Regions from separate parts of the Homo sapiens genome. Here region 2 is linked to region 1. Evidence: promoter capture Hi-C in 16 types of primary human blood cells and fetal thymus (Javierre and others, 2016). All regions are on one chromosome and are shown on one strand. Each heading gives the region's core, a stretch centred on a gene start or on the middle of the fragment in contact. The rest is flanking DNA. Distances are from core to core; before and after follow the strand shown. Region 1 overlaps TFAP4 (transcription factor AP-4). Region 2 holds the start of GLYR1 (glyoxylate reductase 1 homolog).

Region 1 (6,762 bases), core at 1,855-4,354:
CTTGAGAGGCTGAGGCAAGAAGATTGCTTGAACCCAGGAGATAGAGGATGCAGTGAGCCGAGATCACGCCACTGCACTCCAGACTGGGAGACAGAGACTCTGTCTCGAAATAAAGGACCATGCCAATCCCCAATAGGATGCAATGTCCTTGTGCCGTTATTATCGCCAATTTTTAGAAGAAGAAATTGAGGCTCAGAGGAAGCGGTTTGTCAGAGGGGGAACTGACCTCTGGCAGACCAATTCCAGGATCTTAGCACTTAAACACCACACCACGGGGGGGCAGGGGGGTGCTGGGGGGGTGCGGTTGGAGGGGGTGGGGTTCCCCTCCTAGGGGAGGAGAGGATGAGGCTCAGAGAAGTTACAGAAGCCCAGGAAGTGGCAAAACCTAGGGATTAACCAAAGCGTAGGGACCAAGCAGGGCCCCTGAACACCTGTGTCCTTTCCCAGGTTTTCGGAATCGGTGGCTTGGTTGTCCTTCTCTCCTTGCCGCCCACCAAAGAGCCACTCCCCAGCCTCAACACCATCTTCCATCTTTACAGAATACCCAGGGTCATCCCAGGGAAACTGAGGACCCCAATTTTTCATCGCAACACCACACACAAGCTGAGGGAGTAACTGTGCTCACACACACCCAGTCCGCTTTGGGGGGCCCAAGGAGCCCCCCTACTCTAGATGGGGTAGCCCTGCCCTGGTCTTCAGGCCAGCCCACACCCAGGAGACTCAGAATCTAAAAAACAAAGTACAAACTTTATTTTGTTTCTTTACAAAGGCACGGTGGCCTCTTGGTTTTTTTCTCCCCACTTTCTTAACAAAATATAATAGCTTCTCCTTGAACACGAAGACCTCAAAATTGTAAAAAAAAAAAAAAAAGAAAGAAAAAAAAGAAAAACAAAACAAAAACAGAAAGCAAACCAAAAAGAAATAAAAAACCAACAACAAACAAAACAAAAAGAGAGAGACAGACATTTTTGGGGTGGAAGATGAGACCTGGAGGCAGAGGTGGGGGCTGGGGGGTGGGAGAGTGGCGAATTCTAGTGCCGAGATGGGGAAGGGGGAGGGGGGCACAGCAGCAGCAAACCCCAACCAAGAAGCAACGGAGACCTCCGGGCCCCCAGAATGCCCCAGCCTAGTCTTACCCCCAACCATGTAAGTGCTTAAAGGAGAAAGAAGAAAACCCAAAAAGAGGAAGGAAAGGGGATTGAAGGCTGACAATCCCAGGCTGGCTCTGGGCAGGGAAGAAATAACCTGGGGTTTTGTTTAATTTTCCCTGTTCTTAAAAAACATATTTAAAGGAAAAAATGCTTTTTGGCAGAGAGAGGCCAGGCATCTCCGTGTCAGCTTCCTCCAGCCCCCGGGGCCGAGGCCCCGCCCTGGGGTGCCGATGCTCCCACACGCTCTGCGACACCCCAGCCCCGGGACCTCGGGTTGAGTGGCTTCGTTCAAAGGTCGATTTACAGTATTGAAAAAGAGGTCATAAAAGAGACCCAAATGACATCGTAATTTTGTAAAAATTTCTCACTCATTCGCCCATGTCTCTCCCTGTGGCTGCCCCGGCTCCCTCCAGCCCCCAGAAGGGAGAGGAGGGCTGGGGGGGTAGTCAGGGAAGCTCCCCGTCCCCCGACGGCTCCTCCCGGCTCTGGTCCATGGCGTCACTGTCTGAGGCCTCGGAGTCGGAGGCGGTGTCAGAGGTGGGGGCCTCCGGGCAGCTGCGGACAGGCTTCACGATGACAGCTCGCCGCTGCTCCTCCTCCAGCTCCTGCTTTTCCTGGGTGCCCTCGATGTGCTGGATTGCCTGGACAGGGACGAACCACTGAGAAGGCTCGGCCGGGGATACATGGCCAGCCAGGAGACAGTGGGGGCTCTCAGCCAGCCACTGTCACCCCCAAAACACATAGCCCAGAAAAAAGCCTGGCAAAGCAGCAGGGGAGGCCCGCTAGAGTACAGGAAAAACAAACTCCTTTTACTTTTTTTTTGGAGACAAGCTCTCGCTATATCACCCAGGCTAGAGTGCAGTGGCATGATCATAGCTTACTGCAGTCAGACTCCTGGGCTCCAGCGATCCTCCTACTGCTCCCTCCCTAGTAGCTGGAACCACAGGGGTGCGCCACCATCCCCAGCTAACTTCTGTATTTTTGGTAGAGACGAGGGGGTTCTTGCTATGTTGCCCAAGCTGATCTCGAACTCCTGACCTCAGGCAATCTTCCTGCCTCAACCTCCAAAAGTCCCGGGATTACAGGCATAAGCCACCACGCCTGACCCAGGAACAAACTTTCAAAACCCCTCTGTTAAGTTGAAAAATCCATTCTGGGAAGATGACAGTCCCAGTGCTGCTTAGAAATTATATTATATGTATCAGCCAGGCGCAGTGGCTCACGCCTGTAATCCCAACACTTTGGGAGGCCAAGACGGGAGGATCACCTGACGTCAGGAGTTCGAGACCAGCCCCTCAACAGAGGCCAGAAGCCTACTAAAAATACAAAATTTGCCAGGCGTGGTGGCACATGCCTATAATCCCAGCTACTTGGGAGGCTGAGGCAGGAGAATCACTTGAACCTGGGAGGAGGAGGTTGCGATGAGCTGAGATAGCACCATTGCACTCCAGCCTGGGCAATAAGAGCGAAACTCTATCTCAAAAAAAAAGAAAAAAAAAGAAATAATATGGACCTTTCATATGTTTTTGTTTGTTTGTTTTTTGAGAAAGAGTCTCACCGTGTCACCCAGGCTGGAGTTCAGTGGTGCAATCTCAGCTCACTGCAACTTCCACCTCCCATGTTCAAGCGATTCTCCTGCCTCAGCCTCCCGAATAGCTGGGATTACAGGCGTGCACCACCACGTCAGGCTAATTTTTGTATTTTTAATAGAGATGGGGTTTTCACCATGTTGGCCAGGCTGGTCTCGAACTCCTGACCTCAAGTGATCCACCCACTTTGGCCTCCCAAAGTGCTGGGATTGCAGGTGTGAGCCACCACACCCGGCCATATGTTTATGTATTTTAAAGCTTGCCTATTAACTTATTAAAGGCGTTTGTTATTAATTGTATTACACAATTTGCAAAGTTTATGAGCAATTAAAATTCGAGGAGATTGATGGATTTTTTTTCCTGTTTTGGCTTTTTTGGTTATTTATTTATTATTTACTGATTTCTGATCTTGGGCTCCTCAAGGGGCCCTGTTCAAGGGTGAATGCAACTGTAACTTCAGGCTTGACCCACAAAGCTTCCTCCTCTGTAGGAGGCCCAACTATCACCAGCCCTGCCACCTGTATCTCCATCCAGGTCCTAGGAGATGGAGCTGAGACAATGTTCCGGACCAACCCAAGAGCTGGATGCAGGAACTCTGTAACCAGGGGGCTCTGGGAGCAAAGGACCCTCTCCGGAAACCCCATATTGAGGGAAGGGACAGTCTTCCTGGCCAACTCCTCCTACTGGCGTGGTAGGCCCTGCCCCGATCTCTGGCCCTCACATTCTCCACTTGCAGATCCAGGGACGGGGCCCCCCAAGGCTTCCAGCCCTCCACCCCTTCCCACACAAGCACCATCTTCCTCCGCTTCTGCCCCTCTTTTCCAGTCTCCCCTAAAGAGCCTGTTCCCGGAGTATGACCCCCACAAGCTGCCCCTTTCTCAAGCTCAGGTACCTGCACGATGGTGTCCAGATTTTGCCGGGATGTGGAAACAGAGTTGATGACCGAGGAGGGGCCCATGGTGACGACATTGATGTGGTGGGAGGGAGGAGGAGGCGGTGCTGGCACGATCACCGTGGGGTGGTGGGTGGGGGCCGGAGGGGGCAGAAGCTGCAAGACAGAGGCCCTCAGCCTTTCTCTCAAGGCTTCTCTTGGCCCATCCACCTCCCTTTCATGCAGAGCTGGCCAATGTATAACTGCCTCTGCCCCTTTATATTAAGAAGCAGAGAGGACGTGGCCTAGGGAGAGGCTTCCGCCATTCAAGATCACCTGTCCCCTTCCCGGTCCCCAGAGCCCACTCCCGGGCGCCTCCTGCTCACCTGGGTCCGCAGCTGCTGCTGTTCCCGCTCCAGCTTCTCCTGGTGCAGCAGCCTCACCTGTTCCTGCTGCTGCTGCAGCTGCACCTGCTGCGCAATCACCTTGAGCTTTTCCGGGTACATGTGGGCCTCCAGCGAGCGCACCTGGAGGCAGGACAACCTGGGCTCAGGGCCAAGGCCGGGAGCACACCCTGCCCTGTCAGTCTCACAGCAGCTCATTCACTCCTGCTGAAAACCCTAGCACAGGGCGGGCCCCTCTCAACAGAGGCCAGAAGCCTTTCCAGAGCCCTTCAGCCCCCGGCTCCTCTCGCCTCCCACCTCGGCCTCCACTGGACCATGCTCCCTCCTGCCCGAGTCTTTGCCTATGCTATTCCCTCTGCCGGGAACACCTTTCTCTGTCCTTTGGTTAACTATGAGACTCAACTTCCCACTTCCATGGAGATGCCGTGGGGCGTCCCTTGAAAAACCCCTCCTGATGCCACAGCTCCAGCCTGGCCTTCAATATGGTTTTTTGTTTTTGTTTTTTGGTTTTTTTGAGCCATGGTCTCCTTCTGTCACTCAGGCTGCAGTGTAGTGGCACAATCATGGCTCACTGCAGCCTCCACCTCCTGGGCTCAAGCAATCCTCCCAGCTCAGCCTCCTGAGTAACCGGGACTACAGGCACACCCCACCACACCTGGCTAATTTTTGTATCTTTTTTGGTAGAGACAGAGTCTCACTATGCTTCCCAGGCTGATCTCAAACTCCTGGGCTCAAGCGATCCTCCCACCTCAGCCCCGCAAAGTGCTGGGATTATAGGTGTGAGCCACCATACCCAGCCCATCACGGTTACATTTTTTTTTTTTTGAGATGGAGTCTCGCTCTGTCTCCCAGACTGGAGTGCAGTGGCACGATCTCGGCTCACTGCAAGCTCTGCCTCCCAGGTTCACGCCATTCTCCTGCCTCAGCCTCCCAAACAGCGGGGACTACAGGCACCCACCACCACGCCCGGCTAATTTTTTTTTTTTTTGTATTTTTAGTAGAGACGGGGTTTCACCGTGTTAGCCAGGATGGTATCGATCTGCTGACCTCAGGTGATCCACCCGCCTCGGCCTCCCACAGCATGGTTACATTTTTGAGATCCTTTGGCTAATCTCCCCCACCCCAACGCAGACGGTGGCCCCCAAGGGCAGAGACGTGTCTGGCTTGCTCCCCACTCCTAGGCCTGGCACCGCAGTAGGTGCTCCTGTAAATAGGGCTCCACCGAGGGCCGCAGAGCAAGAGGCGCGACCCCAGGCTCCACGCCCTCTGCACCGCGCGCCGTGCCCAGCAGAGGGCGCTGCCTCACCTGCTCCTCCAGCATCATGCGCACCGAGCGCTCCTTGTCCAGCTGCTGCCGCAGCTCAATCATCTCCCGCCGCAGGTCCTCCGCCTTCTCGTCCTCCCAGATGTCCGGGGAGCCTATGCCTTCGTCCTTGTCCTCTGCCCGCCGTCGCTTGGGGGACGAGCCGCTCAGCTCCTGGGGACCCCAAGGAGTCGGTCAGTGTGCCTGACACCTCGGTACCACCACGGAGATTGGGGTTCCATCGCAGCCCCCCAAAGCTGCCCAACACAGGTGAATCTTCATTAGGGAGCCCCTTCTGCAAGTCCAACAAACCAGCCAAATGCCAGGAGAATGGGCTGCTTTACATAACAGTCACCTGGCTCCTTCCAGAGCCCACTCCACCGCACTTGACCGATGGGGAAACTGAGGCCGGGGCAGGAAAAAAAGTGCCTGGAAGTACTTGTCAGTGGGCAAGAAGGGGCCTGCAGCCACACCTGAGTCCCAGGCCCATGGCTGGGTCCAAGGCATGCCCATGCCAGGGAGAGGGAGCCATGAAGGACAGGGCGCACCTGGATGAAGCGCTTGAGCTGTGTGTTCTGCTGCAAGAGCCTGGTCTTCTCCTGCTCCAGGGAGAAGATGTACTCGGCTGTCTGCTGGAGAATGGCTGCCTGAGGGCGTGGAAAAGCCGAGAGTCAGGCTGGCAGTGTTTACCAGAGCTCACTTTCCTCTCCCAGCGGGAACCTGCCGGCTCCTCCAGGAAGCCCTCCCTGCTCTCACCCACCTTGCTGAGCTTCTCTCCGTCTGTGTGGGGGATGAGGGTCTTGAGGGACTGGAATCCCGCGTTGATGCTCTGCATGCGTCTCCGCTCGTTGCTGTTGGCGATCTCCCGCCGAATCCGCCGCTCCTGGTCCCGCTGAGTCTCGGGGGTTAGTGGAATGTTGGCAAGGCTGCCAGAGAGGACAGGGACAGGCTCGGCCAAGGCGCCCTCTTCATCATTCATCTCCAGAGGGCCCCAGTGGAAACTGCATCCCTCCCCTGCTGCAAAAGATGCCAGGCCACCCCCAGAGAGTGATGGAGGGGTGCTCTCTGGGACACCGGGGCGGACTGAATCAGCTGGCTGCGGGTAAGATAGTCCGCTCAGAACCCACCCCGGGCCAGGCACAGTAATCCCAGTTCTTTGGGAGGTCAAGGCCAAGGATCATTGAGCCTAAGAGTTTGAGATCAGCCTAGGCAACGTAGTGAGACCCTGTCTCTACAAAAAAATAAAATTAGCCAGGTGTGGTGGTGCATGCCTGTAGTCCCAGCTACTCAGGAGGCTGAAGTGGGAGGATCGCTTGAGCCCAGGAGTTGGAGGCTGCAGTGAGCTATGATCACGCCACTGCACTTCAGTCTGGGCAACAGAGCAAGACCTTGTCTCAACAACAACAACAAAAACCCATCCCCTCCCTGGCTTTCCTCACAGGGA
Region 2 (6,762 bases), core at 1,189-3,688, 590 kb after region 1:
GAACCTAGTTCTTGCCTGACTTAGTTATAGACCTAGGACAGTTGTCTAGGGCAATTTCTGCAAGAAATTGCACCTTTATTTAGGTATGAAGGCAGAATGAGATGCCAGTATTACACATTATAAGAAGACTGAACTAAGGATCCTTAGAATATTTTCAAAGCAGCTCAGACTCCAGGTAACACAGAAAGAAAGGCGAAGGGAGACTCCTGGTGAGTACTACTCACTGATCTTCTGTTCCAAAAAATTTCACAAAGAAGCATTTCTTTCCGCGAGGTTTCTTCAAGTCCTTTGGTGGATTAACAATCTGGAGGATAAAAGGGGGGAAAAAGGTTGGCTGGCAACACAGCAGCCCACTTTCTAGTGGCTCCACATTGCTCTACAGTTCTACGTTGCTAAGAAAAAAGTAAATTAAAAGGACTTACTTACAAATAAATTTATTTATATACAAAACAGAACCCAAGGCCTAGTACTTGTCTAAATCTCCCATTTTTCTATTGAGGTGTATGGAAATGTGTAGATATTCTAGAAGTTCCCAATATTTAACATGTAGCACAGTGCTCAGTAGACACAATATCCCTTTTACTGCAGTGGCCCTGTTTTACAAGCAGTTAAAACTAAGATCAACAGCATCCCCTGCCCCCCACCACCCCACCCCTGCTCCAATGTGACCCCATTATTACTGAAAAAATGCAGACGACACTCTTTGAAATACTTCCTGTGCAGGAAGGGTTGACACAGGACATAGTGAAAACAAAGGACAACCGAGGCACAGAAAACACCATATTGCAAAGAGACCATCTAAAGACACCTCCCGGGCTCCAAGCAAGAATATAAAAACACAACATTTGGAAAGCAATGATGGATCACCTCATGCAAAATCTGGAATGCCAACTTCTGCAAAGAGGCACTGGAGTAGCACATATGGTAACATGGAAAGAAGATTTAAACTTAGTTGGGACAAAAATACTTTGGCTTTTCACTAACCTACATTTAGACTTTCTTCCTGGATAATTTATATTTTCTTCTCCTTTTGTTACATTTAAGCATAAAGCTAAATTCAGACTAGAATTATTTCCGGGGTTAAAAAAGAAACTTCATAAACCTCCTCTAAATCCAGAAATAAGGGTTTAGAGAAGATTTAATGATCTGGTGTATACTGCATTGCCTTTTAAAAAATAACCGATACTAGGGGAAAAAAAATTCTAAGTGCCATCTGAATGAGCCCAATTTAACTCAATACTAGAAACTGAGAGGAATGCATCTTACATTCTCCACCTCTTCAAACCCAACTTCAGATCTCTTCCTTTAGTAGCAAGACACTCACCTTTCCTGGCCAAGGAGGATATCGGCCGAGTTTCCCCCTAGAGAAAACACAAAGAGTCAACACTTGCCCTGCAAAAGCCAGTCCATCTCCTTCAACCCACTCAATACGCAATTTATTTTCCTAAATCTCTGCTGGCATCCTCAAATGCCGAAACAAAAGCTTTCATAGCTGGGCCCAACACCCTCAGAAGTAAAATGCAAAATTGTATACTTATGTGCACAACGCATATCCATTCTTCTGTTGACAAGGAATACAGAACAACACAACTGTCAAAAGTCACTTGTCTAGAGCTTCTTAATGACGGGGGTGGGAGGACAGCTTCCTCTGTAAACACAGACTTTCCCTCCCTAAGTCTGGTTTAATTCAACAGGAGACCTGCCTGGCTTTGACAAATGCTAATGGAAGCCTTCCTCTGGGTGGAGAAACAAGCTACGCAGCTCGAGGGAGGCGGCGACAAAGTCTTGGTTCGGGCGGTTGTCTGGGACACAGAAGCAGACCGCGGGAGGCACCCAAGCGTGCACTGGTCACTGCCAAGCCATCGGTTGTAAAGGAGAAGTCCCCCCGCCGTTTCTTCGCGGGGCAACGCCAGCAGTCCGGTTTAGACAACCCCGGCTGAGCCGGCCGCACAGGTCGGCTGCATCGCAACCTGGGCTTTGACCGAATGGCACCGGCCAGATCTCGCAGGTCCGGTCCCCGGCGCTTCTGCTTTCTGGGAAGCCCCAACAAGACCCCGGGGACCGGTCGTCCGGGGAAGCCTCGCGGCACCGGCGGCTCCCTTCACGGGGGCCGCCAGTATCTGGGCCCCGAGTGCAGACCCCACCCGGCCGGCCTCGGGGATCAAAGCCGGTGCCCGACGTGGCCACCCTCGGCCTCGGTCCCCCGGGACTGGACTGCCCCTTCCGCCTGGCGCCGCTCGCAAGCGCCGGCACCTTCTCTTCCCCTCTCTCCGCGACCTGGAGCGCATAAAAAGGCAGCTCCAGGGCCGGCAGCGAACCCCGCGCCCAGGCGGGTAGCTCCCCGGCGCGTCTCGGTTGGCCCGGCCGCTCGGACTCACCACACCAAGTCGCCGAGCCGCAGACTCACAGCCGCCATCTTACCACCCAACCACCGCCGACGCACGGGCCGCCGGGAACAGCAAGTCGCCCCGGCGCCGCCCATTGGAGTGGGCCCGACCACGTGACGGGGGCCGGCTGTCACTGGCCACGCCGCTACTCTGACGTCACCGCGCCCGCCGGGGATCATTGGTCGACCGAGGGGCACGTGACGCGAGCGCCGCGGTCTCCGCGCGCCGGAGCGCAGAGACTCCCGGCTCCTTCCCCCTCCCTTCGGCTCGTGACAACGAAGCGCCCGCGGTCTGAGGCGGCGGCGGCGGCGACGGTGCGACCGGCTGAGCGCGAGAGGGAGCCGGCCTCGCGGCTCGCCCCGCCCCCGGGTCTTGGACTCCGCGCCCCTCCCCTCTCGGCGCTTCCGTTACGCCCGTTGGTCCGGCGCGGGCCCCGGGGCCATTCCCGAGCCCGAGGCGCTGGTCGGCCCCGTCGCAGCGCCAGTGAGCTACCCTGACGGAGCTCGGCGCGGCCTGGAACTCAGCCTCCGCCGGGTCTGGGCTCCCGCGCCCGGCAACTCTGCTTGGCCGCAGGCCGGGAGGCCCCGGTGTCCGCGCCCGTCCGCTCCCGCCGCCCGTGTTCTTTGGAGCGCTCCTCCCGACGGCCGCTTTCGGAGGCGCCGTCTGAGCGCGGGGTCCCGCGCCGCAAGTTCTCCTGGGGCGACCGGAGGCTGCTCCCCCGACCCCCTGGTGTCCCCGGAGTGGCTGCGCGGACGTCGAGTTGGCATTTCTTCGCTTCCTCCTGGGCCGGCGCGCGGCGCGGCACACCAGGCTCCCCTGGGCTCGGGGACCCGGCCATGGGCCGAGGCGCGGGCCGCCCGCCCGCTGGGAGCCACGGCTTAGCAGCCGACCGCTAGCTGCGCCGCCGCCCGGGGACCGGCATGAGGACCGCCGCGGGGGGACGTCTGCGGCCCGCGTCGGCGCTGGGGACAAAGGTGCGTGTCGTTGTCGGGTCCGGGCTCTCTCGTTAGCCTTGCCCTAGTTTTGCACTTTTGAAAAAGTTGTGACAACAGGAAGACAGATGCCGGGCGTAGTTTGGACACTTTAAAACTGAACCATGAACTGGGAAGTGTTAACTGCAGTTGAGCGCAGCGTCGGCCCAAACTTCAGCAGACCAGGTAGAATCACAATTTTGCAAAAGATCCCAGTCCCGATCACAGACTCCACAGTGTTAAGGATTGACTTAGACTTGGTGTCGGGCTCTTGTTGAGTCACTGCCAGCTGGCAAAGGTGGCGAGTCGACACGCATTTCCCCAAGGCATTGTGGTGGTTAGAGATTTCGGTTGCAAGTCGGTGTTTAGCGTACTGGGTCGTCCCGCAGCCTGATTTTTCTTGGGAGATCAGTTTCCCTGAAGTACCAAGAATTAGCTGCACGGACTGTCATTTACTGCGTGTGTATTTTTAAGACAAAGTGATCTTTAAAGCGTATTTAAGATTCCAGGGAATAATTTGATAAAAATTTAACATAAGTTCCTGTTTAAAAATTCTGAATTTGTGAGGAATTGAATGAGATTTTAATAACTTAAATAAAAACATGAATCTTGGCCGGGCAGGGTGGTATAAGCCTGTAATCCCAGCATTTTGGGATGCCGAGGCGGGTGGACCACCTGAGATCAGGAGTTCGAGACCAGCCTGGCCAACACGGTCAAACCCAGTACTCTACTAAAAATACAAAATTAGCCGGGCGTGGTGGCGCATGCCTGTAGTCCCAGCTACTTGGGAGGCTGAGGCAGGAGAATCGCTTAACCCGGGAAGCGGAGGTTGCCGTGAGCCGAGATTATGTCACTGCACTCCAGCTAGGCGACAGAGCGAGCGAGACTCGTCCCCCCGCCAAAAAGAAAAAAGAAAAAAAAATCTCAAATGAACATTGCACCAAAACCTAGAGGCATTCCCCTTAACATCAGAAACATGGTACATTTCTACCACTATTAGATAATAAGAATATATTGCCTAAAACCTGAAAGTTCTAGCCAGTGCAGTAAGACAGGAAACAAAAATAAGAAATGCAATTTTTGGAAAAGGGAAGACAGAATTCTCATTTCCGTGGATGATAGGTCTGCCTATTTTGAAAACAAAAACAAAAACCAAAAAACCCATTAAAATAAGAATTCAGGAAGGGTACTCATTATAAGTTGGAATGCACAATTTAGTTTTTCTGTTTCATCAATAACCAGTTTGAAAATACAATGTTTAGAAGGAGATATATATATATATAGTAAGAAAAAATTAAAAATTGCTGAGGATAACCAAGGGACAAGGAAGGCTAGTATTTTCTCAGTAACACCAACTGAGGTTTTTAAAGGGGGATCTTTGTTTTTTTCTTTTTTTTGTTTGAGACGGAGTTTCACTCTTGTCGCCCAGGCTGGAGTGCAGTGGCAGGATCACGGCTCACTGCAGCCTGGACCTTCCCAGTCTAAAGCCATCCTCCCACCTCAGCCTCCTTAGTAGCCAAGACTACAGGGGTGTGCCACCATACCTGGCTAATTTAAAAAAAATTTTTTTGTGCAGATGAAGTCTCATCATGTTGTCCAGGCTGGTCTTAAACTCCTAGGCTCCAGCGATCATCCTGCCTTAGCCTCCCAAAGTGCTGGGTCCGGGAAGTTGAGGCTGCAGTGAGCTCTCATGGTGCCACTGCACTCCAGCCTGGGCAACAGGAGTGAGGCAACTGTCTCACAAAAAAAAAAAAAAAAACCACAAAAAAAGCTAAAATCTTTCCAAGGACTTAGGCAACTCTCGTAAGTCTAATAGATAAATGTAAGTTTTTTTTAAGCATTCAAACATGTTTGAACTTAATTATATTTTCTTAAGCATTTTGAATTATGATTGTAAGTCTAACGTACCATTGTTAAATATATTGGATTCTCTTAAATGTTTCAAATGGCTTAGTAACAGCAGAACATTATAATGATTATAAAACAACCCCAAATCTAAGTGGTAATAGAGTACAGATTTGACTCACTTTATCCTGTAGTCCTATTTTTTACCTTCTTGGGCCTGGAGAGTCACTTAAGCAACTGAAAGGAGCAGTTTTGCCATCTAGGATTGAAGCTGCAGTCTCTCAGACTTGGACTGAGATAAGGTTATGTGTTTACTGCCTGGACAGGGGGAGTAGGACCTGGTTGCCAATTCAAGGATGACCTTCCTGCATCCCATTGGTTAACTTGCTGATTCCCTTCTTATAGTGAGACTGTTCCGGTTCTATCAGTGGGGGAATCTGTAAGCCTTCAGCTGGGATTTATTTCCACAACCCAGCGCATCACAAATATCCTGAGGGCCTTGGAGATTTCTTTTAGGGAAATCTCCTTTAACATCTTAGTACGTGTTGGGAGATGGTCTTTTGCAGCGCCAGCCTGTTACACTGCTAATCGTTTTGCCGCCTGATTAGAATTATTTTAACTCTTCATTTGTAGATATTTTGTTCCCTTATGTGATGTTATAAGTTGATTTTGTGATCATAATTCGACAAATGAATATTGGATATATACAAATACGTCTACATGTATGTGGATATATACGATATATGCTAATTTTCCTGAATTAACTCACATTTGTGATTGATTTACAACCAAAATACAGTGAGTTTTTTTGAAACCTGCCAAAATAATACATAGGCTGGAATGGCAAAGTATTATTTATAAAGAAGGATAATAAACATGAGCTTTAACTTTGCAACATTAAAGTATGAAACTTTACAAAACAGTGCAATACTGATTAAAGAATCTCTAAATACCGTATTAATATGACACATGGACTTCAGAAACAGGCCTTAGATATCTGTGATGTTGCTTTGCAATATATGCCAAATCAGCAGAGGAAGGAAGGATTGTTTAGTGATTGATGCTGGAAGAAACCAAGTTACAGCCTCTCCTCATACTTTATAGCATAGCAAATTCATCTGGGGTTAATGAAGTAAATGTGAAAAAATATCTATAAATGACCATATAGGCTGGGCTCAGTGGCTCACACCTGTAATCCCAGCAGGAGTTCAAAACCAGTCTGGGCAACATGGCAAAACAACGTCCCTACAAAAAATACAAAAATTAGCACGCCTGTAGTTCCAACTACTAGGGAGGCTGAGGTAGGAGGATCGCTTTAGCTTGGGAGGTTGAGGCCTCAGTGAGCTGAGATTGAGTCACTTTATTCCAGCCTGGGCAACAGAGTGAGACCTTGTCTCAAAAAACAAAAAACCTATATACACAAGTTCTTCTATAAGATCTGGTTGGAGACGAACATTCTAGGCATAAAAGAAATGGGAGGAGTCTCAAAGGAAAAGAGCCTAGTTTTAACTGCATACAAAGTTATAATTTCCTTGGAAGGAGGGTCGCTTGAGGTTGTG

The links. The method cuts DNA at HindIII sites, captures the fragments that hold promoters and counts their contacts. A CHiCAGO score of 5 or more calls a contact.
Region 2: the fragment with the promoter of GLYR1 here is called in contact with a fragment that was not itself captured in region 1 in 5 of 17 cell types (total CD8 T cells, naive CD8 T cells, fetal thymus and 2 more); the score reaches 8.6 in total CD8 T cells.

What each region holds. Positions count from the first base shown.
Region 1 is chr16:4,256,458-4,263,219 of GRCh38, forward strand. TFAP4 (transcription factor AP-4) reads right to left here. Exons shown (of 7, transcript NM_003223.3): 2 at 6,079-6,244; 3 at 5,867-5,965; 4 at 5,322-5,492; 5 at 3,998-4,138; 6 at 3,633-3,788; 7 at 729-1,792. The coding sequence ends at 1,598. Among named protein-coding and RNA genes, the nearest start is that of LINC01569, 6.0 kb to the left of the region's middle. The HindIII fragment of the contact is 217 bases long and covers 2,997-3,213 here.
Region 2 is chr16:4,844,850-4,851,611 of GRCh38, forward strand. It overlaps GLYR1 (glyoxylate reductase 1 homolog), which reads right to left and starts at 2,439. Exons shown (of 16, transcript NM_032569.4): 1 at 2,379-2,439; 2 at 1,325-1,361; 3 at 225-304. The coding sequence starts at 2,416. It overlaps UBN1 (ubinuclein 1), which reads left to right and starts at 2,632. Exons shown (of 18, transcript NM_001079514.3): 1 at 2,632-3,361. RefSeq lists enhancers at 1,883-1,942, 2,243-2,302, 2,598-3,440 and silencers at 2,493-3,212, 3,223-3,312. The HindIII fragment of the contact is 6,120 bases long and covers 1,482-6,762 here.